Regions from separate parts of the Homo sapiens genome. Here region 2 is linked to region 1. The links are contacts of gene promoters, found by promoter capture Hi-C in blood cells and fetal thymus (Javierre and others, 2016). All regions are on one chromosome and are shown on one strand. Each heading gives the region's core, a stretch centred on a gene start or on the middle of the fragment in contact. The rest is flanking DNA. Distances are from core to core; before and after follow the strand shown.

The links. The method cuts DNA at HindIII sites, captures the fragments that hold promoters and counts their contacts. A CHiCAGO score of 5 or more calls a contact.
Region 2: a fragment that was not itself captured here is called in contact with the fragment with the promoter of ZNF595 in region 1 in 17 of 17 cell types (M0 macrophages, endothelial precursors, total B cells and 14 more); the score reaches 128.7 in M0 macrophages.

What each region holds. Positions count from the first base shown.
Region 1 is chr4:50,530-56,995 of GRCh38, forward strand. ZNF595 (zinc finger protein 595) reads left to right here and starts at 2,792. Exons shown (of 4, transcript NM_182524.4): 1 at 2,792-2,962. The coding sequence starts at 2,960. It also overlaps the pseudogene LOC105374377. RefSeq lists enhancers at 2,653-3,594, 3,595-4,535. The HindIII fragment of the contact is 7,613 bases long and covers 1-6,293 here.
Region 2 is chr4:190,105,905-190,112,370 of GRCh38, forward strand. It overlaps LOC107986338 (a long non-coding RNA gene), which reads right to left. Exons shown (of 3, transcript XR_001741971.3): 2 at 2,945-3,223; 3 at 1-1,453. Among named protein-coding and RNA genes, the nearest start is that of DBET, 45 kb to the left of the region's middle. RefSeq lists an enhancer at 2,595-3,133. The HindIII fragment of the contact is 6,450 bases long and covers 1-6,418 here.

The sequences.
Region 1 (6,466 bases), core at 1,542-4,041:
CCAAGATCGCACCACTGCACTCCAGCCTGGGCGACAGAGCAAGACTCTGTCTCAAAAAAAGAAAAAAAAAGAAATATAAATAGCCAAGATGATAGTACCCTATCTCACTCTTTCTGTACGAGATGGAGGGTGACTTAGAGCCACTTAGAGCCACTTACAGCTGAAGGTAAGGTAGGCTTACCTGCAACAGGCACCTGGCTCTAAGTTGCAAAACTGCCTCCTATCATGATGTTGGAAGTTTATTTTTTCTTTGCATATAACCAACCAGCATACACAGAAGGCCTCCCCAATTACCAGGTGAGTTTAAGATGAACTATGTATAACAAATGGTTTGTACAGAAGGGAGGCAGGAGAATGGGGTATGGAGGCAGAGAACTTAAGGCCAATTTGTGCTGACTTCCTAAAAGAAAAAACACCAAGGTCTGGAGGCAGGAAACCTAAGGCCAATTAAGGCAAACTTCCAACAGCTAAACCAAAAGAAAAAGTCCCATCTCCCCACACCTGAATAGCAAAGGATCAAAGGCTACTGTCCCTACAACCCTCCCCTTTCTACCACTTCTCAGGTAGAAAGGGAAAGTGCCTTGGAGTGGCTGCAGGCCAAGCACCTGCATTCCTTCATCCGCATAGCGTGCCAATTCTCCTAAGCCTTTAATTAGCCACAGACCAAATCCTTAATCCATATCAGTGGTAGCTGATAGGGACCTCAAAAGGAGTACTAAAAACCCAGAAAACTTCGTAACTGGGTCCTTGAGCCACTTGCTCAAGCCCATACCCACCCTATTTCTTACCTTAATAAATTTCCGCTTTTGATGCTTCCTCCCTCTGTTTTGTTCCTTTGTTACTTTGTGCATTTTGTTCAATTCTTTGTTGCCAAGGACCTGGACAACTCACACTCACGGCCTTCGTTCTGGGAACAGAAGTGCAGTTAGATGTGGATGCATGTGATTGGTGCTTAAACTCACAGTGCCCCACACCAAAGGAGAAAAACACATAGTTACAGCCTGTGTGTCCAAATTAGGTCCAGATTAGGTCCAAGGACAAATAGCAAAACAAGAAGATTGCCTTTAATCTTTTCCCTCCACTTCTAAACTCTGGAGGACAAGGCTGTGAAGAGATCTGAAGACATGGTGTTCTCTGCTTGTGTGGCCCCAACATTCTTTGTTTGCTGTCTGATATTTGAAAGGAAGAGGAACCTTTGATAGAGGAGGCAGTCGGACGCTGGTTAGGCAGATAGAGAGAGGGCCTGGGGAGAGGAAAAACACGTGTGGGACCGCACCTGCACCACCTCTGTAGCTAGCAGGAAGAAATGTGGTTAAGAACTTCCTCTTATGCCAGGATGTTGCTCCAAAGGGACTGTCCCAACTTAGCACAGGCGCAATAAATCAACCCAAATGTCCTTAACTTGACCCAGCTCATTATAAGGTCATTAACATGACATTAGCATTGTGGTTTTGGCTCTCCTCGTGTAAGTTTCGCTTAGGCACTCATGGGTAATAACCAAAATGGAGTCACTGTGGCCAATCCCAGGCATGCGCAGATGCAACACCCTTAGTGAGGAACTTTACCCCTCCCATTTGGGCAGAACCCACAGAAGACATACTTGTTCTTGCCACATAAAAGACCCAGACCTCAGCCTCATTTCTGGCAACCTGCTTTCAGGTCCCCTCTTGCTTCTGAGAGCTTTCCTTTTGCTTAATAAATCCTACTCTGCCTTGCTCACTCTCTGGTATCCGTGTGCTTCATTCTTTTTGGTCGTGGCACAAGAGTCCCGACCTGGCTGAACCGAGGAGACCACCACACCTCCACCAAACAGCAACTGGGAAACCGTGGTCTTCACGTGGATACTCTCAGCTTGCAGCCCCTGCTCTCTCTAGGGGCACTGTCCCACCCACCCTTGAGCCTGAGGAGAAAAGTTGGTAGAGAGGCTGGTCCCTTACTTCCAGCAGAAAAGAGGTGTTCAGGCCCTCACTTCCCTAAGGGAAGAGAGCCCTCATGGCTGCGCTCAATGTGGCAGCCACCTGCCATATGTAGCTACTGGGTACCTGGAATGTGACTGGTTTGAAGTAAAATGTGCTGCAAACATAAAATACACAGTGAGTTTAGAAGAATTAGATCAGAAATACATAAAATACACAGTGAGTTTAGAAGAATTAGATCAGAAATATACTTTATTTCTAATTATATATCAATCACATATTAAAACAATATTTTGATACAATGAGTTAAAAATTATTACAAACAACTTCACTCTTTAAATATTATTTTTGACGTGGCTAATAAAAACGCAAAATTCACAAATTAATATTTTATTTTTTAAAGGATTGCTTCCCTCTTAAAATCTCAGGTGTCCTACTCAAAAGACTAGCGGCCAGAAGGGTTATGAAATCTAAAATATTAAAATAATTGTCATTATATCACTTCCGTTTGTGAAAAAGTGTGTGTGCATGCATGTGTGCATGCGTGTGTGTGCGCGCGTGTGTGTGCGCGCGTGTGTGCACGTCTGTGTGTAAGTGTATTTTACAAGTGGACATAACCTTACACACAACAAGGTTAAAAAAAACACCCCTGGGCTGCGTCAGGCCAAGCCGGGAGAGAAAGCCCCGCCTGAAAGGGCCTGGAGGCCCCAGCCTGTCACTCTTGCCACATCAGTGGAGTGTATGGTTGCAAATTCTGTTACTCAAGGCCCGAGGGCGGGGATTGGAGTAATATCCAATCAGAGTGTCGGAATGAGAACTGCCCAATCAGGCCCGCAGCCAGAGAGGAGGGGTTGGCTTCCGGGATCTGGCGCGGCGTTTTCCTCTGGCTCCTGCGAGGGCTTGGTTTAGGGCTTCAGCTCTCTGCGTTCTCGGCTCCGGGAGGCCTCGGTGATTCAGCCACAGCCTCTGCCTCCCGTTGCTCTGTGACCTGAGGGTATTGGACAATTTGTAGCTAAGACTCCCGGATACCCTGAAGTCGGGAAATGGTGAGTGTGCGGGGCAGGGCGTCCGGAGGCTGGGGAGGCCTCATCGGAACCGGCGGGAAATGGCGGCGGCGGGACCGAGTCTGCGAACGGAGTCCCCGCTGCCGCCTCTCAGCCCTCAGTCCCCTCCGGTGACGGACCGGGCTCCTGTCGGTCCCCGCACGGCGGCTCTGGCCCAGCCTGCGGCCCTCCTTGTGCAGTTCTGCGCCCGCAGCCCCGCACCTTCCCTGGGCCGCGGGGTGAGGAGGAGCTCATCTGGAAGACGCCGGCGCCCGCGTGCGAGGTGCCCGCCTGGGAGGAGCTGTGGTCCGGGGGTCCGGTCCCTACTTTACCCTGTTCGGAATGAGATCGAGGCCCCATCGAAACAAAGTTCATGTGAGCAAACGGGGTCTCATTAATGGGACAGCGTCGGCCGCGGCTCCTGGTTTGGGGACTGCCAGCGGGTCTTGAAGGAAAGGCTTTTGTGAGGTGTGTGAGCAAGCGAAGCAAATCACCCGCCCGCTCCAACTATTCCACCAGTCCCTTTGCCCTGTGCACCTCCTCCGCGTGGCTGTTCCTGAGTAACATCTTTTAGAATACGCTGGTGTCGGTGCGCACGGCGCTTCTCAGTTCTGTGAGTAGTTCTGCCACATTGCTGAACTTGAGGGTGTGGGCGCCCCTGGTTTGTAGACAGGCGTTCAGAAATGAAGACGGGTGTCCAGAGGCAGGGACTGGCGTCTGCAGCGGGAGCAGTTGTGGGAAGAGCGCTGAGCTTGTGGGGTCTGCGCTGACTCTGGGTGGTGTCGTTAGTGAGTTGCTGGACACCGCGTTGGGGTTGGAGCATTGACTGGTGTTGAGGAAACTCCGCACGTTTTCTGTCAGAAGAAAGACATGGCTGAGCCTGGGCTGGAGAAAGATGCCTGGTGTCTGCGGGAGGCGCGGCCGGGTTCTGCATATGTGCTGTCCCGCTGGGCACTGTCCTTTTCCTCCAGGTCTCCTTCCGGGGAGAGAGGGGACCCAGAACAAAGAGGAAAGGAGTTCTGAGAAACATCCCTTCCCTGCACCCTGCTGCCAGCCCCCACCCAATGCTAGTCCACTCCTGAGCACGCCCACCGGGCATTCGCATTGCCCCACTCTTCCCAGTACAGGATTCCACCTCAGGAATTGTGCCCATGGCAGCTTTGCGCCTAGCGTTTTCTGCCAAAAACACACGCAGTGCCCAGAAGTCTCCTGGCTCATCTCAACCGCAGACCGGATCTACAGCAGGAACCTGCTTCCTTCACCCACCCAGGCTTCCGGACCACCTGATCCTAATCCCTTCTGTCTTTGTAGACATGGAATCAGAGCGTAGCCCTGCCTCGGCCTGTACCTGTGGCACAAACCAGTGCTTTAGTCAGTCCTGCCCTGCTCCCACTCATGGCTTTTTTTTTTTGAGATGGCGTCTTGCTCTGTTGCCCAGGCTGGAGTGCAGTGGCGTGATCTCGGCTTACTGCAAGCTCCGCCTCCCAGGTTCACGCCATTCTCCTAACTCAGTCTCCCGAGTAGCTGGGATTACAGGCGCCCGCCACCATGCCTGGCTAATTTTTTTTTTTTTGTATTTTTAGTAGAGACGGGGTTTCACCGTGTTAGCCAGGATGGTCTGGATCTCCTGACCTTGAGCCCTCCCGCCTCGGCCTGCCAAAGTGCTGGGATTACAGGCGTGAGCCACCGCGCCCGGCCTCCCACCCATGGCTGTTGATAGCTCCTTTCTCTTCTGCTTTTTCCTTCCCCACAAATTCTCTTTTCTGTGTACACGGTGTGCCCAAGTCCATCCCTCAGGTGCCTATGAGAATTCAGACGTTAGTGAGTTCGAAACCAGGCCTTTTGGCCTGGCTGTTGTAGGAGCAAACACAAATTAGAAGAGGCTTAATGCTTTCTCTTTAGAACGAGGGAAGAATTTTTGCTCTTCTCCTTTTTCTTAAAGCATTTAGTTTGAGAACTTTTATATTTAAATATTTTCTCTGCTTCTTTGAAATATATGTAAATCATTTTTATCAGTTAAATAGGTCATTTGTCTTTTTTGGCTCAAAATTGTCTTCATCTGGGACCTGGGAACTATTGCTTTGAAATGTAAATAGCAAGAATATACACCCTATTTCACAGTTTCTGTAGGGGACTAGGAGGCTGCCTTCAGCAGGTACCTAGCTCCACATTGCAAATCTACATCCTGTCACGAAGATGTGGATGTTTATTTTTTCTTTAATGATTAGAAAAAATTAGAAAACCCAGATGACCTCTCAAATTACATGATGAAATTATAATAAATTGTGTATGACAAATGGTGCTTTCAAGGCTTCTACTTGAGAACTAATTATGGTGACTTTCTGTGTTTGCATTTTCTTAGATTGCTTGTGATGCACATCATATTTTGGTTTAATTATACAACAAAACATTTTCTTGCAGTTCTGTTACTGTGGAGACTTTTTTAGGATTGCAGATGATTTTGCTTTTAGTTATATTTTCCACACACTGTCCAGAATTACCAGATGTTATACACAAAATGTCGAGCAGACTTCACTTGAGAAAACATTCTTTCTCAGGATTCCAGTCACAACCTGCAATTGTGCGGCAAAGTGCAGCAAAGTATTTCCTAAATCTGCAAACAGAATGGTCTCTCTCTTGGCATCTACAGTCCTTTCTAGAGCAGTTAAATTTCTACAAAAATAACTTTTCAGGACAGCAGTCAGTTATTTCACCGCCTTCAGTGCTCCTGGCATCTTCCGTTCTGACACTGATTTCAGAGATATGGGGCCCATAAACCTAACCAGATTCACACATACGCATCGATTAAACCTGAGAAATTCTGCTCCCTCCCACCTCCCCTTGCCCACATGCCCACAAACATTTGGCATGGGCCACATTGTGGCCCACAAACATAGCTCACCAGCCCTCCAAGACCTAAATGTGCAGTTCCAAATTCTGAATTTATGTCCTGAGATTTGATAAAAGAACTTTTATTTGAGAAATACAAGTTTTTAGATTTATCAGACCCAGAGATGTGTTAAAATGAGACCACACTCACATACTGTTCTCCTCCTTGAACTATTTGTCTTTTGAAATTGCTTGCTATTGCCACAAGTGGCTGTAAATTAACCTAATAATGCCACACTGGACACTATGACCCATACCCTATAGCTTAACTATGTATATGGCCAATCACTAACCAATGTTACTTCTATAAACCAATAAGAATTTCTGACACCTTTCTATCAATCTCCTCTCTGACTTCCTTTTTGCCTGTAAAAATATGCTTGTAACTGCTTCTAATTGGAGTGTATATTCAGGGCAACTTTATACTCCAGGATTGCAGTCTTCAAGCTTTGGCTCAAATAAACTCTCTACTTATGTTTACCCCAGCTTTTTCCCTTTAGCTCAAAATATTCTTTAGAATATGTTGAAGGAGGCTTCATGAGAAGGTCTTTCCTCTGATTTTACTCTGTTTCCTGTAACTCAAGAATGCAGCACACATTGATCTCACCTAGAATCTGC
Region 2 (6,466 bases), core at 1,944-4,443, about 190 Mb after region 1:
TGTTGCACAATTCATTCCTGTGTTGGCCTTCGGTAGCTGTTATTATTGGCTCTTATTTTTCTTTGATATATTTTAATTTTTTTTAGTACTTACTTTCTGATACTTCAAGATTATCCTGGCTCCTATATTTACTGTCCCAGTTCTAGTATCAGACATTTCTTCAAAGAGCCTGATTCCTTTCAGAATGGTAGGAAAACTTACATCTGGCTGTTGAATTAGCACATTGTATCTTGTCCCTCATTAGCAATGCTAGGAAGTATATGTGTGTGTCTAACCTACCTATACACACCTGATTATAAAGTTTTCTATGTAGAACTGTGTGTATCTATATTAAACTAAACATAAGTTTATGTTTGAAGGGGTGGCCTGGCCCTCCACATCTGTGGGTATATCTCATCAGGTGGGATGAGAGACTGAGAAAAGAAATAAGATACAAGACAAACTATAGAGAAAGAATAGTGGGCCCAGGGGACCTGCACTCAGCATACCAAGGACCTGCACCAGCACCGGTCTCTGAGTTCCCTCAGTTTTTATTGATTATTATTTTCATTATCTCAGCAAGAGGAATGCAGTAGGAGAGCAGGGTGATAATAAGGAGAAGGTCAGCAAAAAAACACGTGAGCAAAAGAATCTATATCATAATTAAGTTCAAGGGGAGGTACTATGCCTGGATGTACACGTGGGCCAGATTTATGTTTCTTCCCACCCAAACATCTCAGTGGAGTAAAGAATAACGAGGCAGCATTGCTGCCAACATGTCTCGCCTCCCACCATAGGGCAGTTTTCCTCCTATCTCAGAATTGAACATATGTACAATCGGGTTTTATACCGAGACATTAAGTTCCCAGGGGCAGGCAGGAAACAGTGGCCTTCCTCTATCTCAACTGCAAGTGGCTTTCCTCTTTTACTAATCCACCTCAGCACAGACCCTTTACAGGTGTCAGGCTGGGGGACAGTCCGGTCTTTCTCATCCCATGTGGCCACATTTCAGACTATCACATGGGGACAAACCTTGGACAATACCCGGCTTTCCAGGGCAGAGGTCCCTGTGGCTTTTTGCAGTGCATTGTGCCCCTGGTTTATTGAGACTAGAGAATGGCAATGAGTTTTACCAAGCATACTGCTTGTAAATATTTTGTTAGCAAGGCACATCCTGCCCAGCCCTAGATCTCTTAAACCTTGATTCCATATAACACATGTTTTTGTGAGCTCAAAGTTGGGGCAAAGTGGCTGGGGCAAAGTTACAAATTAACAGCATCTCAGCAAAACAATTTTTCAAGGTACAGATCAAAATGGAATTTCTTATGTCTTCCCTTTCTACATAGACACAGTAACAGTCTGATCTCTCTTTTCCCTACATATCCCCCTTTTCTTTTTGACAAAACTGCCATGGTCATCATGGTCCATTCTCACTGGTCACTGTCTCTCCAGAGCTGCTGGATACACCTGTAGACTAACAACAGAGAGAACGGACATACAAGGATTAATACAAAAATTTCAATGGTGGAACTTCCAATGTTTTCAACCCAAGTGGCAGGGTTAAGATTTGTGAGGCTATCAACAGCTTTCATGATTGCCTCAGTTTCTGGTACCAGATTTAACTGGGCTTTTGATGCCTCAAAAATTTGTTCTTTTAATTTTGAAATCTCTAAGGTAAGATTATCTTCTCTTCCTTGTAGATGGCATCTCACCATGTCCTAGTGATGTTCAGATTCATTATAAGCTCGAGGTGTAATACAAAAATCTGATGTATTCCAGTCACACTGTAACTGAAAAAGGTATTCCAAGCTCATGAGCCTATCTCCAATCCAAATTACAGTTTGTCTAAGATCATTAATTTGGTTTGCCAATTTTTGATCTATTTGGGTATGAGAATTCCACAATTTTGAGGAATTCTTTTGCCAATTATTCACATATTCTGCAGTTTGAACAGAGGAGTGTAAAGCAATTCCAGCAGCCGCAGCAGTAGCTGTGATAAGACCCATAATCACTGCAATCAAAGTAAAAATGAATCTTTTGGATCTAGTTAGAACTCCTTTTAATACTTCTGTTAAAATATGGATGGATGGGGAACCCTCCCACTGTTGGTCCATGGACACAGGGATCCCCACGCCCTCTCTTGCCCTCACTAGCAGAATACAGTGTTGCCAATCCAAAGTTGAATCAATGCAAGTAAACAATCTACAATTTTCACAGGTTATAGTTTGGGAATCTGGTTTAATAACTCTGTTTCCTACAACTAGCATATAAGGGGGTTTTACACACCCCATTTCCATGGATAGAGTGATTCTAACCTACTATAAACCTGGTCCAGCCTTTCATAGGCCAGATTAATGGGCCAGATGGATGGGACCTGTCAACATGGTTGAGTCTGGCCTGCACAACTATGATATAATTGGCCTCAAGGAGCCCAGTTTATAATAGTTCCAAATTCATTGTTTTGTAGTACCACTGCAGTATCAGCCACACATTCTTCCCAAACTAGGACTTCTGGGCTTTTTGATTCTTTGGGAATTTCCTTGGGGCAAGGCTTCCCCTTAGGCCTAGATTGTAATGATCTTTGATAAGAAAAATCCTGTAAATTATTTATCTGTGGCCTGAGTGACATTCCACTTACCATGTGATAAGTAAATCTGCTGATGGCACTGACAGTAGGTACTTCTACCAACCAATTTTGGGTTGTAGGTATTAAGCATCCTGGTGCTTTCCCCAGGCAAATAGGAGGATAATGATACCCAATGGAAATGTTTATCATCATTCCTTCTTCTTCAGGTTGGGCAGGGCCACGGTCATCTGTGGGGCCTGGTACCCATGCACTATTATTAACATATACTTCAATAGGATTATCTATCCAAGTGACTGTCCGAATTAAGGGTGGGAAAGGCACATAGGCCAAGTAAGTATAATTAGCTGCAGCTGCTCCTGCAGACATAGGGAGACTTACCACCGTTGGTACAATCATTAAAGCTGCAAGCAGCATATTCTCTGGAGTTTGTGTTAACCTTGTATTCTTCAGGCTTTTTTTCAGCTAACTGTGTCAGCTTCTTTAGCTGGGCCCAGGTCAGCAGCTCCACTTTCTTGGTGGATGGCAACTTCATCTGTTCTTCTGATATCACCATTTTGTTCACCTGGCGAGTCGATGGTGCTCCATTGCGGGTTTTCCATCTCCACGGAGGCACTTTTCTTTGCATCTCTGATGGGTTCATTGTAGAATTTCAAATGTCTAGTGGGTATCCAAACAGGAAGCTGATTTTCTCCTGGTGAAACACAAGCAAAACCTCTCCCACATGTTATCACCTTACCTATTTCTCATGTCTTATTTTTGATCTTTCCACCAAATCAGTTTTCCCTCATGTGGGCTGTTCTTTTTACCAGTAAAATGTTGTTCTGCAGAAGTAGTGGTCTTATTTCTATAAATGTTTAAAAAAATTAAAGTATAGAGTGCTAGATTAAGTTGCATCTGGGGAGTGTTATACTCCTTACTCTCTTTTTCCTTTTTTGTTTAACAAATTGAGCTTTGAGTGTCCTATTATTTCTTTCAATTATGGCCTGTCCTTGGGAATTATAAGGGATTCCTGTTGTATGTGTAATTTTCCACTGATTTAAGAATTTTTGGAATGCTTTACTATAGTAGCCTGGTCCATTATCTGTTTTAATTTTTTCTGGAACTCCCATGACAGCAAAACAAGATAATAAATGTCTTTTAACATGGGAAGTACATTTTCTGTCTAGCAGGTTGCCCATATGAAATGTGAACAAGTATCAACCATCACATGGACAAATGACAATTTTCCAAATGAAGGTACATGTGTGACATCCATTTGCCATAATGCATTAGGACATAAACCTCTGGGATTAAGTCCTGCCTCCTGAGTGGGCAGGTGTAGGACTTGACACTCAGTACAATGTTGTACAATATTTTTTGCCTGTTTCCATGTGATATCAAATTTATTTTTTAATCCTGTTGCATTTACATGAGTCAGAGCATGACGTTCTTGTGCTTCCATGAAGGCAGATGATACTAGCAAGTCAGCTTGTTCATTTCCCTTAGTTAAGGCCCTGGTAAATTAGTATGTGCTTGAATATGAGTAATATAAAATGGGAAATTTCTTTTTCTTACAGTTTATTGTAAAAAATTAAACAGCTGATTCAACTGATCATCCATACTACATTTGATTAGGGCTGTCTCAACATCCTTTGTAGCCTGTACTACATATGCAGAATCTGAAACAATGTTAATAGGCTGATTAAAATCTTGTAACACTGAAATAACAGCAACCAATTCTGCTCTTTGAGCTGAGTGATATTGAGTTTCAATGATTCATTCTTTTGGCCTGGGGTAAGCCATTTTTCCATTGCTGGAACCATCAGTAAACACCATCAGAGCATTTTCTAAAGGTTTATGTCTGGTAATTTTAGGTAAAATCCAAGTAGTCAATTTTGAAAACTGGAAGATTTTTGTTCTTGGGTAATGATGATCAACAATTCCCACAAAAGCAGCAAGACCAATCTGCCATGCAGCAGAATTGATAAAGGCTTGTCTAACCTGTTCCTTGTTTAAAGGAACAATGATTTTATCTGGGTCACTTCCACACAATTTTACTATTCGTAGTCTTCCCTGACCAATTAATGTAGCCATTTGATCTAAGTACAATGTAAAAGTCTTAATTGTACTGTGAGGAAAGAATGACCACTCCACAAGATCTGTATTTTGAACAATAATGCCTGTTGGAGAATGTACAGTAGCAAAAATCAAAAGTTGGAGTGGGGCTAAGTGATCTATTCTATTTACTTGTGCTGACGGAATTTTTTCTTCAACTAATTCAATTTCCTTAGCTGCCTCTGGAGTTAATGTTCTTTTACTATTCAAGTCTGGATACCCTCTCAAGATAGAGAACAAATTCGACATGGCATAAGTAGGGATGCCTAGAGTTGGCCGAATCCAATTAATATCTCCTAGCAATTTTTGAAAGTCATTTAATGTTCTTAATGTGTCTTTTCTTATTTCTATTTGTTGTGGTTTAATTTTTCTTTCCTCTACTTGCATTCCCAAATAATGAAAAGGAGTAGAGGTCTGAATCTGCGTTTGCAACCTCTGCAGAAATGTGTAACAGTCAATTAATTTGCCTCTTGTTTCTGCAGCACACAAAATATCAACATAATGAATGACATAACAGTCTGAAAACTTGTCTCTAACTGGTTGAAGAACTTGAGCTACAAAAGTCTGACAAATAATTGGACTATTAAGCATTCCCTGAGGCAACACTTTCCACTGAAATCTGGTGGCTGGTTCTTTATTATTTATGGCTGGTATAGTAAAAGCAAATTTTTCAAAATCCTGTTTTGCCAGAGAAATGGTAAAAAAGCAATCCTTCAGATCAATTATAATTAAAGGAGATCGTGGCTGGAGAGGGCAACACGGGTTGGAGAGGCCTCATAGGTTGAATTACTGCATTAATGGCTCTTAAGTCAGTTAGCATGCGCCATCTGCCTGATTTTTTCTGAATTACAAAAACAGGAGAATTCTAAAGACAGAAAGTGGGTGAAACATGTCCTTTATAAAATAGCTTTTTAACTATTTTATGTAGCACCCCCAACTTTTCCTTAGGGAGCGGCCACTGTTTGACCTATACAGGAAGCTGCAGGGTGAGTCTGAATTGCTCCTTCACCACAGTGAACTGTAGGTTGGACAATAATGAGTGCCTCGAGCCAAGTCGCAGCAAGCCTAGTTTCAGGCTCCCTCCCCCAGAAGTCACTGGGCTGAGGAGGAGGTGGCCATCATGCTTTTAGCCCCAATGGCCCCGATGGTTCTGGACTTTTTCCTTTTAATTTTAATGTTTCAGGATATATTACCTCCTGTAATTGATTGTAGTCAACATTTTGCATTGACCGAGCCATTACCGGCTCTGCTACATATTTACAATATGAACTTTCCATTCATTTCCTAGATTTTGTCCCCGCCTCTTCACAATCTATTACACAGCTTTCAGAGGCAGCAGAAACTGAAATGCTGTCTTCTTCTACTTGAAACCATTCTAAAGTTGCTTTAACAATGGCCCAGCATCGCAGCGGGCGCCTGTAGTCCCAGCTACTCGGGAGGCTGAGGCAGGAGAATGGCGTGAGCCCAGGAGGCAGAGCTTGCAGTGAGCTGAGATCGCGCCACTACACTCCAGCCTGGGCGACAGAGCGAGACTCTGTCTCAAAATAAATAAATAAATAAATAAATAAATAAATAAATAAATAAATAAAAAATAATGGCCCAATCATTCCATACTGTAAGTGGGATGGTTTTACCTTCCCTACTTGCTTAATTCTTTGCCAATTTTTCCCAGTCTTTTAAATCTAAAGTTCCCTGTTCTGGAAACCATGGGCAGAATCGTTCTATTGTTTGAAATAGTGTAATTAGATTTTCTGTAGAAGCTTTAACTCCCCCTCTTCTTAAGAGAATTTTGATGAAGCTGAGATA